Regions from separate parts of the Homo sapiens genome. Here regions 2, 3, 4 and 5 are each linked to region 1. The links are contacts of gene promoters, found by promoter capture Hi-C in human tissues and cell types (Jung and others, 2019). All regions are on one chromosome and are shown on one strand. The core of a region is centred on a gene start or on the middle of the fragment in contact, and the rest is flanking DNA. Distances in the headings are between cores, read along the strand shown. Region 1 holds the start of PISD (phosphatidylserine decarboxylase). Region 2 has its middle 25 kb from the start of C22orf42. Region 3 overlaps SLC5A1 (solute carrier family 5 member 1). Region 4 overlaps LOC105372998 (a long non-coding RNA gene). Region 5 holds the start of DRG1 (developmentally regulated GTP binding protein 1).

What was found. Contacts are between HindIII fragments. The study calls those that stand out against the background at their distance.
Region 2: a fragment that was not itself captured here is called in contact with the fragment with the promoter of PISD in region 1 in 1 of the 25 tissues and cell types used here (lymphoblastoid cells).
Region 3: a fragment that was not itself captured here is called in contact with the fragment with the promoter of PISD in region 1 in 2 of the 25 tissues and cell types used here (lymphoblastoid cells and mesendoderm cells).
Region 4: a contact is called between a fragment that was not itself captured here and the fragment with the promoter of PISD in region 1, in 1 of the 25 tissues and cell types used here (IMR-90 fibroblasts).
Region 5: a contact is called between the fragment with the promoter of DRG1 here and the fragment with the promoter of PISD in region 1, in 1 of the 25 tissues and cell types used here (hippocampus).

Annotation. Positions count from the first base shown.
Region 1 is chr22:31,660,867-31,663,498 of GRCh38, reverse strand. It overlaps PISD (phosphatidylserine decarboxylase), which reads left to right and starts at 1,284. Exons shown (of 8, transcript NM_001326411.2): 1 at 1,284-1,355. The coding sequence starts at 1,291. RefSeq lists enhancers at 1,244-1,543, 1,784-1,833, 1,051-2,250, 2,224-2,363, 1,659-2,552 and 1 more. The HindIII fragment of the contact is 10,896 bases long and covers 1-2,632 here.
Region 2 is chr22:32,132,788-32,135,419 of GRCh38, reverse strand. It overlaps the pseudogene AP1B1P1 and the pseudogene AP1B1P2. Among named protein-coding and RNA genes, the nearest start is that of C22orf42, 25 kb to the left of the region's middle. The HindIII fragment of the contact is 8,200 bases long and covers 1-2,632 here.
Region 3 is chr22:32,082,220-32,084,851 of GRCh38, reverse strand. It overlaps SLC5A1 (solute carrier family 5 member 1), which reads right to left. Exons shown (of 15, transcript NM_000343.4): 7 at 1,698-1,778; 8 at 193-413. Among named protein-coding and RNA genes, the nearest start is that of SLC5A1, 40 kb to the right of the region's middle. The HindIII fragment of the contact is 6,109 bases long and covers 1-2,632 here.
Region 4 is chr22:31,922,710-31,925,341 of GRCh38, reverse strand. LOC105372998 (a long non-coding RNA gene) reads left to right here. Exons shown (of 3, transcript XR_001755494.2): 3 at 1-47. Among named protein-coding and RNA genes, the nearest start is that of YWHAH, 21 kb to the left of the region's middle. The HindIII fragment of the contact is 5,629 bases long and covers 1-2,632 here.
Region 5 is chr22:31,398,270-31,400,901 of GRCh38, reverse strand. It overlaps DRG1 (developmentally regulated GTP binding protein 1), which reads right to left and starts at 1,298. Exons shown (of 9, transcript NM_004147.4): 1 at 1,177-1,298; 2 at 159-282. The coding sequence starts at 1,218. RefSeq lists enhancers at 1,189-1,238, 366-1,271 and a silencer at 1,359-1,638. The HindIII fragment of the contact is 5,082 bases long and covers 1-2,632 here.

The DNA.
Region 1 (2,632 bases), core at 35-2,534:
CCCTAGTTGAACTTAAGCCAACTACACAGAAATACCTGCAGGGACCAGGGAGCATATTCCTCCTCCTGTCAAATGCCTGGTGAAGGCAACTGTGATTATCAGCTTAGCAGATGAAAAAGTAGGGCTGCATTCCTTCAGTTGTTGGACCCAAATTCTGCCAGATTCTGACAAAGGGCTTAAAAGGAAGAATGTTTAGGCCAGGTGCGGTGGCTCACGCTTGTAATCCCAGCATTTTGAGAAGCCGAGGCGGGCGGATCACGAGGTCAGGAGATCGAGACCATCCTGGCTAACATGGTGAAACCCCGTCTCTACGAAAAATATATATAAAAAAATTAGCCGGGCGTTGTGGCGGGCGCCTGTAGTCCCAGCTACTCGGGAGGCTGAGGCAGGAGAATGGCGTCAACCCGGGAGGCGGAGCTTGCAGTGAATCGAGATCGCGCCACTGCACTCCAGCCTGGGCGACAATGAGAGACTCTGTCTCAAAAAAAAAAAAAAAAGAAGAAGATGTTTAGGACATGGTTTTTGGAGTCAGAGACGTATGTTCAAATTCTGGCTTCACTATTTTATAGTCTTTGGGCATATGCCCTTTATGTACCCTTGAAGATGTTGCTTAACCTTCCTGAGCCTCAGGTACCTCATCTTTAAAATGGGGATAATGTCTCGGGCCTAGCTGCGAGTCTCTAGTCAGTGCTCAGTAAAAAGTAGCAGACATGATTGAAAACTCGTTTTCCTCTTACAATTGAAGATAGGAACCTTTTCAAGAGCAAGCACCAGGCACCGAATTTAACGACTGGTTGCATTTCTAGGTGATCCAAGACCGTTTGCCCCCGGTCTCCCTGGCAGCACAGCGGTAGGAGATAAGAATGATATGACACCATGCTTGCAAAGTGCTCACAACACACTCCGGCGCTTAAAAAACGAGAGCTGAGTCATGGATGCCCAGTTTCCCCATCCGTAAAATGAGCAAGTTCGATCACTTGAAACGACATTCTTGGATCTTGGATGACTCAGATTTTCCAGGTACATGAGGAAAGGCACCCAGAGGGAAGGAGGAGGAGTGGCAGTGCTGCGACCAAGCCCAGGTTTAGCGAAACCTACAGCTCCACTAGTTCCCCTACCTCCGCAGGTGCCAAGCGGGTTAGGTGGGGAGTAGCCACAGGGCGGAGCTTAGTCGGCTCCGCCCCCAACCCGCGCTTTTCTCATTGGCCCACTGAACTCGAGACTCGTGACGCCTTAAGCGTGCGCCCAGCGTGTGAAGGGGGCGTGGCACGCTGAGAAGGAGCAGACAAGATGGCGACGTCCGTGGGGCACCGATGTCTGGGATTACTGCACGGGGTCGCGCCGTGGCGGAGCAGGTATAGCAGCGCGGAGAGACTACCTTGGGGCGTGGGGCAACCTGGACCAAGCTGGGGTCTGAAGAGAGATGTTTCTGTGTCGCGGGCTCGCTCTGAGGCGAGCTCGGGTGGAGACGGAGCCACCTTCACCTCGAGCTTAGGAGCAGGTGCGACTGCTCCTGCGTAGGGCGGTCCGGATTTACTTAGGGTGTGGCCTAGAAGCTCGCGCTTTGCCCTTTCCAGCTAGGTGGAAGTTCACGAGGGACAAAAATCAGATGAAATAGGCTACCTGCCCGTCTCTTGAGTCGAGGCAGGGCTTTCAGATGTTCAGATGCCATTTTCTCGTGTGTTCGTTTTCGTAGAAGGAATGATGTCCTGTGGGAAGGACACTAGATTGAGTGTCAGGCAACTTTCATTTCTGGATCTTAGTCTTTGAAGCTAGAGGGTTAGGTTAGGTAATCTCAAAACAATATGTTATGGGGCTAGAGTCTTGGTTACCCTTGTGACCCCCAGCTGTTAGATTCTTAGAAATGTGGGAGACTTGAGGGGTCTTCTGAGTCCAGCTGTCTCTCTTTGGAGTTAATGAGATTGAGGCTCCGAGAGAGGGAGGGATTTGCTCAAGTTCACCTAGCCAGTTTGTAGCAGAGCCCGGACCCCCATCAAGGTACCCCCTCACGCGACGATCTTTCTCTCAGGCTGCCCGCCGTGAGGGCAGTGGTTATACAGAAAATAGCTTAGAGCATTTGGAGTGTCGGAAAATGGATTAAAATGTAGCTGTGATTCAGAGTCGGCTGCCTGGTGTCATTTCAAAGAGCTAAGATTTGAGAGATGCGCCATACTTGTGTGTTTCCTACAGGGTTCATTTTGTCAGCGTTGATCAGAGGATAACCTATTGTTTTGGGAGGAGACGGACACTGGATTTGGACTGAGAGGGAACAGAAACCATCATTGGTCTTGTTATGAAAGCGTCACTCTTTCATCATTAACTGTACAGAAATGATTATCTCTCAGGAGAGGGCTCTGCATTGTGGTGGTAACTGTTAGAATTTGGGCAGGAGACTTTGTTTTCAATGTTATTACCAGGCGTGCTGTGTATGAGTCAACCCTGAATTCATTTAAAGTGTGTCACAGGCTGGGCGCGGTGGCTCACGCCTGTAACCTCAGCACTTTGGTAGGCCAAGGTGGGTGGATCACTTGAGGTCAGGAGTTCGAGACCAGCCTGGCCAATGTGGTGAAACCCTGTCTCTACTAAAAAATACAAAAATTAGCCGGGCATGGTGGCAGGCACCTGTAATCCC
Region 2 (2,632 bases), core at 82-2,581, 470 kb before region 1:
TGATGGGAACAGAGAGCAAATGCTTTGAGTTTGGGGTAGTGGGCTGGGGTGATGAGGGAAGGCAGGAACACGGGAAAGGCGGACCTTGAATTTTTTTTATTTTTTTGAGAGGGAGTCTCGCTCTGCCGCCCAGGCTGGAGTGCAGTGGCATGATCTCAGCTCACTGCAACCTCTGCCTCCCGGGTTCCAGCAATTCTCTGCCTCAGCCTCCCGAGCAGCTGAAATTACATGTGCCCGCCACCATGCCCAGCTAATTTTTCTATTTTTAGTAGAGATGGGGTTTCACCATCTTGGCCAGGTGGTCTTGAACTCCTGACCTCGTGATCTACCCTCCTCGGCCTCCCAAAGTGCTAGGATTACAGGTGTGAGTTACCACGCCCGGCCTTGAATGGGTTTTTAAAGATGAGAAGACAAGCTGGGTCACGGGGCGCTCCCACAGGGGAAGCATGAGCCAAGGTGCGGCAGCCGCTCTACGCACGACCTGCTTTAGCCATCGGGTGCGACAGAGGCTGCACACCGGTGACAAATTAGAGAAATCCAATCTGCACATATGTTTTATTTGCACCACACAGTGTTTGTTTAATATCATCTGGCCACTTAGGGAGATTTAAAATGAAAAATCCAGATTTCCCATTCTTTTTTTTTTTTTTTGAGACGGAGTCTTGCTCTGTCACCAGGGCTGGAGTGCAGAGGTACAATATCGGCTGACTGTAACATCCACCTCCCAGGTTCAAGCAATTCTCCTGCCTCAGTCTCCCGAGTAGCTGAGATTACAGGCATGCACCACCACGCCTGGCTAATTTTTATATTTTTAGAGGAGACGGGATTTCACCATATTGGCCAGGCTGGTGTCGAACTCCTGACCTTGTGATCCGCCCGCCTGCGTCCCCCAAAGTGCTAGGATTACAGGCATGAGCCACCACGCCTGGCCCAGATTTCCCATTCTTTTTAAAAACTAGAAGACCTGGCCACACTGGGTCCTCTTCCCCAGCCAGTACTGATCCTCTGGAGTTTCTAAGAGAGTTCATGCCACACCCACTCCATCGCCTGCTGCCTTTCCCACCTACTCCAGTTAACTCACTCCATCACCACCTGACCTGTCGGCATCTGGGCTTGTGATTCCTGAGTAAACAAAATTTTCTACTGGGAATAAAGTTTTATGAAGGGAGCTGTATGAGGGGAGACATGGGTCCCTAGACACCCTAAAGGAGAGACTGAAGTGGACCCCAGCTATAAACCCTCCCGTCAGCCAGCTTCCAGCTGCCACCAGGCCTACTCCTGCACACCTGACATCTTTGCCCACGGTCATTGATGCAATCACTTTCTTCACTGCCTCCTCCTCCTTCTCCTTCTTGTCACTATTGAGCTCTGCCTTCAGCTCAAAGATCTCCCCTAAGGAAAGGAGGCAAGCATGAGTGATCCCTCCCTACCCTGGCAGGGGATAATTCCCGGTATCTAACTTCCAAATGAACCAGAGGGAGGCACGTAAGACATACTATGCTGTTGGCTGAGGACAGCTTCAGGTGCCTGGCCTCAGGTGGGACAGGCAACAGTGCGGGACGACTATTAGGATAGGAATTAACAAGATGGAAGCTTGGAGATCAAGTGCAGTAGCTCACACCTGTAATCCCAGCACTTTAAGAGGCTGAGGATCGGCCGGGCACAGTGGCTCATGCCTGTAATCCCAGCGCTTTGGGAGGCTGAGGCGGCGGATCACGAGGTCAGGAGATCAAGACCATCCTGGCCAACACAGTGATAGTGAAACCTCGTCTCTAATAAAATACAAAAAATTAGCCTGGTATGGTGGTGCATGCCTGTAATCCCAGCTCCTCAGGAGGCTGAGGCAGGGGAATCACTTGAATCTGGGAGTCTGAGGCTGCAGTGAGCTGTGACGGTGCCACTGCACACCAACCTGGGTGACAGAGCAAGACCCTGTCTCAAACGAACAAAAAACAAACATGTTTTTTGTAGGAGAAAGATCTAAATCCTGGTTCTGCTGCCTGCTAACCCCCAGCAAGTTGAAATCACTCTGAGCCTCAGTTTCCTCATCTATAGAATCAAGATGATGATGCCTACTTCACAGGGTTGCTGGGGGCTTAACTGACATAACGCATGTAAAGAACAAGGCCAGGCAAGGCTGAGGTGGGTGGACTGCTTGAGCCCAGGAGTTTGGTTGGGTGAGACCAGTCTGGACGACACAGTGAAAACCTGTCTCGACAAAAAATATAAAAATTAGTGGGTATGTTGGCATGCATCTGTAGTCCCAGCTACCTAGGAGAATTGATTGAGCCCAGGAGGTTGGGGCTGCAGCTCCAGCCTGGGGGACAGAAATCCTGCCTCAAAAAAAAAAAAAAAAAAAAAAAAGAACAAGCACAGTACTGGCATGTAGTACATCCTGTATAGATGCCAACTCCCCACTTCCTCTGACTTGGAGGGTATCTTGTTGGTTAAGACCATAAGTCAGGTGAGCCCTAGCTGGGGGACCTGCACATTTCCCTCCACCTCTCTAAGCTGGAGCTCCCTCATCTGGAAAGTGGGGGATGATGATGAAAGTTGCATTAAAGACTAAAGTGTGGAAAGCACCCGGCAGAGCCCCAGACACCCAGTGAGAATTCAATGAGCAGTGGCTCTG
Region 3 (2,632 bases), core at 35-2,534, 420 kb before region 1:
GACACCTTTGTACTTCCTAGCTTCGCCATCTTGGGTCATTGGCCTGGCACTGCTGTATCACTGGGGCGTGGCAACTTACAAACCACCTGAGCTCTCCCCTCCCTGTCCCAACCCTGCAAACCACAGACAGACAGGAGTTCCTGTAGGGCCCTGGAGAAGACTCTGTCCATCCCGCACATCCAGCTTGGGTACCTGATCTGTGCACCAGTACCACAAGGTAAGGATGGACATCCCAAAGATGAACCCAGGCCATGGGAGGTCTCCCGTGAGGGGATCTCGGAAGATGTGGAAGGAGTCGGCCCTTGGAGTGTAGCATTTTTCCTGAAAGGTGGTGTTGCCATCAGACACTATGGTTGGAATGGCTTTCATGTACTTTTCCATGAAGGCGTCATAGCCTCCCACTTCGTGAAAAGCTGGAAAACATCGGTACAGAAATGAACATTCTGAAACCTTCAACTCGTCATAGCAGCTTCTTTCCATAGATGCCTGAGAAACTGAGAGGACCCAACCCACAGACAGAGCCCTCACTGAGTGGCCTTGGGCAAATCACCTTCCCATTCTGGGCCTCAGCTTTGTCATCCATAGAATGAGATTAGTAGCCCTGCCCAGCCCCCTTGGGGGCTATTATGGGGACCAAAGCAATCACTTGTAAAAGTACTCCAACTGTAAACCTCTTTGTAAAAGGGAAGGGACTTTTATTAATCAAAGAAAGACCTTGGTTTGGGACCACATACAAAGACTCTGTTTTTTCCCTCACCCTCTGCTGTCAGCCATGGCCTTTGGAGCCTTGGACTCAGGCCTAGAGACACACAGACCTAGACACACACAGTGGCCTTTGGGACCTCAGACCCACACCTACCACTCCTGGACCCAGCATGTGGTGGGATGGACAGGGAATGGGTGAGGAATCCAGAACCTGCCACCTCTCAATTGTGTGTCCTTGAATAAGTCATTCCACTGCCTGCCTAGCTAACACCCAAGGCCTGCTGGGGAGAACCAAATGAAAGTCCTTAGAAAACAGAAGAGTGGAGAGCAAATACAAGTTTTTGCAGGATACACAGTGGGCCTTGAGCACCTAGAAATAAAATGTACTTTCTATCCTCCCATAATAAGTACCCTTACCTAGGTTCTCCAGTCTCATCTTTAAGATTTCATAGACAAGTAAAATTGCAAAAAAAAAAAAAATTAATTGGAGGGCCAACCCTGAGGAGCCAAGTTTTTAATTTTGCCAAATAGGGGCATTAAAAGGAACATTATCACCCACTATCAACAATTCATAAAAGAAAGGATATTTGACATCAAAATGTAGATAAGATATAGCCTAAGATGGAAGACGCAACATTTGACTAGATTTAGCTTGATGGATATTTAGCCTTATCCTTTTTTGTCCAGTTTCTCTGCAAACAGAACACCATGTTATCACAGGCTCACAGCACAACCACTAGCCCAGACTGGTGAGAGAGGGCAGCAGAAAATCCAGGACCAGCCCCAGCTTCAGTCTTCCAGGGATAAGGAAGCTGACCCTGCATACCCACAATGACAGCCCATCTGGGCTGGACCCTCCGTTTGGAAGGGCAGAGCATGCCTCAGCTCACTGCCTAGTCTGGCAAGCAGGTAGAGAGGCTGGACTTGCCTTCCTCTTCCTGAGGCCCTCTACCTCTGCTCCCACCTCCTCAGCCTGCCCTGGCCCCACTTACCAAACCCAGTCAGGATTAAAGACCCCACCAGCATGATCACCGTCTGCAAGGTGTCCGTGTAAATCACCGCCGCCAGGCCCCCTAAGCAGGCAAGAAGACAACACATCTGACCTCGTGTGGAGGGTGACCTGTCTACTTGCTTCCTTCCCCACTCTCCACCCTCTACTTCTGCTGGCCTTCTGAGAACATCCCCACAGTGGTTTGCCTGCCTCTCCTTCCTTCCCTCCCTTGTCCTGTTACAGTATTTTGCTATTCAGCATGTTCCCACAGCTCCACCTGTCATAGAAGTGGCGAATGTTTCTCCCTACTTGAGGGGAAAGAGTCTGGTGTGACCCTTTTGAGCCAGAAGATGGCTCAAAGGAGATGACTCCTCTGTGGTAAGAAGAAGCGTCTTCCACACACAAGGCAGGGAGGAGCAAAGAGCTGGCTGTGGAGATGGTGGGACATATGTCTACCTTTTTCTTAGTCCCCAAAGCTGTGGGGCTGCAGTCAAGCAGCAAGTTCTAAAGCTGATCCCTCCCACCCCCACCAAGGAGGCAGAGTGACCCCTCTGCAAAGGAGCCCCAATTGCTATTTATGCACCAGCTTCTTGGGTGGCCACTTGAGTCCTCTTCTGAAACCTCTGTGTGTGAGTCACTGCCTTTCTCCCTCCTTACAGGGGCTCCCAGTCCCTGACACATCAAATCCAAGGCCTCTGCCTGGCTTTCCAAACCCCAGTATACTGTGTTCAAAACACACAGTATGCTGTGACCTCATCTGAACTATCAAGCTATATGGTCCCCACAAACCCCCACGATCCTTCAGTGGCCACCCTCCTCCAGCCAAGAGCATCTGCGTGCCCACCCTGCCTCCACTCCCCTGTGCTCACTTATTTCTGCACCTGCCACTGCTCTGATTCTCCCACCTTAGCTAAGTCATCTCCACAACCCACAGGG
Region 4 (2,632 bases), core at 74-2,573, 260 kb before region 1:
GGAATTAGATAAATAGATACATGGATGGATGGGTATATAGACGGATGAGTGAGTGTATGTATGTATGTATGGATGGATGCATGCATGCATGAATGGATGGATGGGTAGATAGATGGATAGGTGGATGTTTGGATGAACAGAAGTTGGATAAATAGGTGGATGGATGGATGGACAAGAATTTGATCAATAGGTATATGTATAGATGCATGAATGGATAGATGGATGTATATATGGATGGATGGATGGATGGATGGATGGATGGATGGATGGATGGATGTTTGGATGAACACGAGTTGGATGAGTAGGTGTATGGATGGATGGGTATATGGATGAATGAATGTTTGGAATCAAGCGATTCTCGTGCCTCAGCCTCTCGAGTAGCTGGGATTACAGGCATGAGCCACCACACCTGGCTAATTTTTGTATTCTTAGTAGAGATGGGGTTTCCCCATGTTGGCCAGGCTGGTCTCAAACTCCTGACCTCAGGTGATCCTCCCGCCTCGGCCTCCCAAAGTGCTGGGATTACAGGCGTGAGCCACCGCACACGGCCTCATAAACTGTTTTTCTCTGTGAGTCTCTTCCTCTCCACCAGAGAGTGGCATTCCTTATTCCCCAGGAATTAGTAAACTCCCTGGAGACAGATGTGCCAGGAATGTGCCCACATCTCACAAAATGCCCTTTTGTGGCCTGGGCACCCCTTCTTTCTTTTATTTTTGAAACAGGGTCTCACTCTGTCACCCAGGCTGGGGTGCAGTGGCACGATCTTGGCTCACTGCAGCTGACTTCCTGGACTCAAGCAATTCTCCCACCTCAGCCTTCCGAGTAGCTGAGATTTCAGGCACATGCCACTATGCCCAGCTAGTTTATTATTAATAGTAGCGGTAGAGACGAGGCCTCACTATGTTGCCAAGGCTGGTCTCAAACTCCTGAGCTCAAGCAATCCTCCCATCTTGGCCTCCCAAAGCACTGGGATTACAGGCGTGAGCCACTGTGCCCGGCTGGCACCCCTTCTTTCAATCCTCACAGGACTCTGAGGGAGGCGTGATTTACCCCCATTTTAAACAGCAGGAAACTGATTTGCCCCGGGTCACACAGATAAAAAGTGGTAAAACTAGTGCTGAAACCCAGGTCGATTTGAATCCAAGGCCAAAATCCTTAACCAGTACCCGCAGGCGGGGATAGTCCCTCCAACAGCCCAAATATGGCTGCCACACCTGTGCCTGGCCACCATGGGTGGGGTAGCCCATTCTATTGTTGAATTCCTGCCTGTCAAAGAGTTTATTCTAACCCACTTGAAATATGCCCCTCTGAAACTGCTACCCAGTGACCCTGACTCTGCTCCCTGGTTACAGAACCAGTGCTTCCCCTCTTCCACATGGCAGCCCGTCAATAATTTACAGCCAGCCGTCCTGTCTCCCCTGCATCTGATCCTCTCCAGGGAGGGGTGGCAGAGGGGAGAGACTGCAAACCTGGAACTACAAAATCCAAGTTCTCATCCTGGCTCAGCCACTGTCCACAGACCAGTAAATTTCAAAAGAAAATTAAATAGGTGATTTTGACAAACAAGGACACTGAAAAAAATGGCCAACTCCTAGCACCCTTGTTTCATAAAAGAAAGGGCATCCTGACACAGAAAAAAGTAGGGCAGACAATTTCAGAATTAATTTATCTTCATAAAAACTCCCGACTTTGTCCCTGTTTCTCTGATTTCACCATGTCCTGGTGCTGACTCTGTGGGGGACTGGCCCAGGTCTGTAGGCCTTTGAGAACCTTTGCTCCAACCCATTAAAGAAAACACTGCTGGCCAGAAAAACCAAAGTAGAGGATTCCACCATCAGGACACGGTAAGTGACCCTGTTTGAAGAGGGAAGGAAGAGCTGAAAGTGCCTGGCACTGAGAAATGGCTGAGCTCAGGAAATGAGACAGACTTCTCCATTGCATTGTGGTTTCATATCCAGTTTCTATCTCAGCTTAGAGGGACAAAGGCTTTTCCTACTCCACGGGTACCCTGTGACCACCCAAGGTCACGTCTCTAGCCGGCAGAACTCACTGGAAGTCAAGAAGGCTGTTTCTGTCCCATGGCAGGAGGCCAGTGAGAAAGGCTGGTTTTATTCAAAGGCAGCAGATTTTCTCTTGGGGAAGTTTTGGGCTTGGTCTGAAGGATGACCGTCTAACCCAAAGGCTTTCTCATTACTCATTCATTCATTTATTATTTACGAGATATCTTCTATGTGCAAGGCACTGTTCTAACGTTAGGAGTACCAAGGTGAGCAAAGAATGATATGGTCTCTGTTCCTGTGGAGCTTAGTGTTGATTAGAAAAGGCTGACATTAATTCAAGTTGAAGGAATAAGTGTAAACTGACGGCTGTGATGAAGGCTACAGCAGAGGCACATGTTACTCTGAGAGTGTGATATAAGGAGGGTTCCCCTAGTCGGAGGTCATGGAAGGCTGAGATAGTAATGGCCGAGCTGAGATCGAAAGAAGGAAGAGTAGGCATTCACCAGGTGAAGATGGAGGGAAAGCATATTCCAGGGAGAGTGCTTGGTGTGGGATGAACATAAATCACATGAAGAACTGCAGTGAGGCTGGTACGACTGCAGGGCGGTGACCAACAGGAAAGAGCATGCAAG
Region 5 (2,632 bases), core at 49-2,548, 260 kb after region 1:
GCCTCAAGTGATCCTCCTATCTCAGCCTCCCAGCATGCTAGGATTGCAGGCGTTGAGCCACTGCACTGGGCCATCTTTAGTTATTTTTAAACCACATGTATGTACTATTTTGACAAAAATTATACCTAAAAATATATATATTGAAGAAGAACACAAACCTTCTCCTGGACCTCCACCACCACCACCCTTTGGAGTAATGAGTTCTCGACGAAGCTTAGCAAGACGAGCCTTAAGCAGCCCTAAGTGGTGTGCTGTGGCCTTGTTCTTTTGAGTCCGAGCCATCTAAAAGGGAGGAATCACAGCCATAAATTAGAAGCAGTGAACGCTTCCCCCAGCTTTGAGAGGATAATTTTTTTCCCCAAGTCCTACTAATGTTAGCACACCCAGTTTACAGGCTTTAAAAGAGTAAAAGTCCATTATCTCCTCCATCCAGCTCATTTCCCTCACTACAAAGCAAAGCAAAGCCCAAAGAGGAAAGACGATTAAGGTCATTCCAATTAGTGCCCCCAGACTAGACTGAAACCCGTCTGCGGGTTCCTTTTCTACTATTTGCAGCTGTTTGGATCCATCTAACACTGGGACACCACTTTCCTAATTGTAAAGCGCTCTCAGGGCCGCACGCAATGGAATCACACACTATCCAGGCGGAATAAACTGCTCCCACACAGATGTCATTTTACTTCCAGATCCGATTACCGGGAGCAAATACTCTGAATCAGGGGGTCATTAGGGTAGACACTGGGAAAAGGGGGAATAAGGGGGACGCAGCGAAGGATGATGAGGAAAGATCCTGAACTATCTGACCAAGTCAGAGATGGAATAAGGGACAGGATTCAGTGTTTCTCAGAGCAAAACGGAAAGAAACAACATCAGAACAGGAGCCAAACACTGGGAGGGGGAACGGACTAAGGGCCTAAGGTGCAGGGGTGCGGAACGCGGGCCCGGGCAAAGGGGAGTCCGAGAGCGTAGACGCGGGACGAGGGGAAAGGGGGCCCTGACTGAGGAGAGTCGGGGACTCCTAATCGTGGCAGAGGGCAGTCGGAACACGGGCCTCGCTGAGAGAAGTCGCGGAATCTAGGCCCGGTCCTGACGCGGCTCAAAGGAGAACAGGAAGGAGCGACGCCACCAAAGAAGGAATGCTCAGACTAAGAGTGAACCGCCAGCTGCGTCCATTACCTCTGCTTCTATCTCCGCGATCTTAGCTAAGGTGCTGCTCATCGTGGCGAGTACCCTGTGGCCTCCACACTGTCTCCCTTCACACACCCGCGGGCAAACTGCCACCGCCACCAGGCGCTACTGCAGCACGCAGGCGCGGTACTTCGAATTACCGCGAGAGAGTTCCGCGTAGGGGTCACCGCGAGTCGCAAAGCGTGGGGCTGTCTCCTCCCCCTCACCCGACCCCGCCCCGTCCCGCGAGCCAGTGCGGTGTCATAGAGCCCGCGGGAGCGGAGGCCAGAGAGGCCACCCCTGTCTGGGCCTCCCCGAGCGCGCCGAGGGTCGCGCGCAGCTCGGCCCCGCCCAGCGGGACCCGCTCCCAGCTGCTCTGCATGGTACTGAACGCTTCAGTGCTGGAGACCCCAGGGCGTGGTGCAAAGCCGACTCATGCTCCGCACCCCTGTTCCTCGCCAGCATCTGCGGGTCCTGGGTCCCTTTTTCACAGCTGGGGTGACACCCCGACGCCCTCCATGGTCTTGGAGGGAGTAGAGACCCATCTTCAGCCTGCCTCACCCCCTTGGATAAAGAAAATGCCCCCTTTCTATCATTCAAAATTATTTTTAGGTCGGTTTTGTTTACTCCGAACCCCGAGTAGAGCACATGGGGAGCCCAAAATAAGTGCATACTTGAATGGATAATTCCCAGAGAACTGCTGCTTGCAACATAGTTTGTAATACCAAAAAATTGAAATCTATATTAACACCCATCAGTAGGAAAATGGATAAATGAATAATGCCTCTATCCTGTTTTTGAAATATGATTACAGCCGTTAAAACGTAGATCTGTGGTCTGACTGGCTACCCAGGACATGTTAAATGGGAAAACAACTAGCAGAAGGGCACCTACGTAGTGATACCATTTATGTTATTTTTAAAATTAAATGTACATTTATATAGGTGTACGTGTATGAACGTGCAGTTTAAAGGCCTAAACAGAAAAATACATCAGAAGCTCTTAACTGTGGGATGGGATGCAAAGAAAAGGCCTTTCACATTTTATTCCACAGAATTTTGAAGTTAAATTTTTACAAGACGAATGTATCCATGTATTACTTGTGTAATAATAAAATTTAAAATTTCAAAAGACTCCTCTTCCCCAAGTGTCATGAGGAAGCCAGGACGTCCAGGAACTATGTGGTGGTTTTGAAAGCGGTTTGCCTCAGGATCAATGGGTTGTTTTGATAGATTGATTATTCCAGCGGGAGTCGACAGGCCAGGCTTAACCCACAGTCGACAGGCCAGGCTTAACCCACAGGGCTGGCCTCCACCCAGCCCTGGGAGGGAAGTTTAATTTAGTTAAATTTGTAAACAAGAACTATTCTAACTTCCCAGAGACAAAAAAGGGAGGTTTTCTTGTGCATAAAGAGGGAGAAACAGAAGGGAAAGCTTTTACAGAAGGTCCCCAAAGGGCCAAAGAG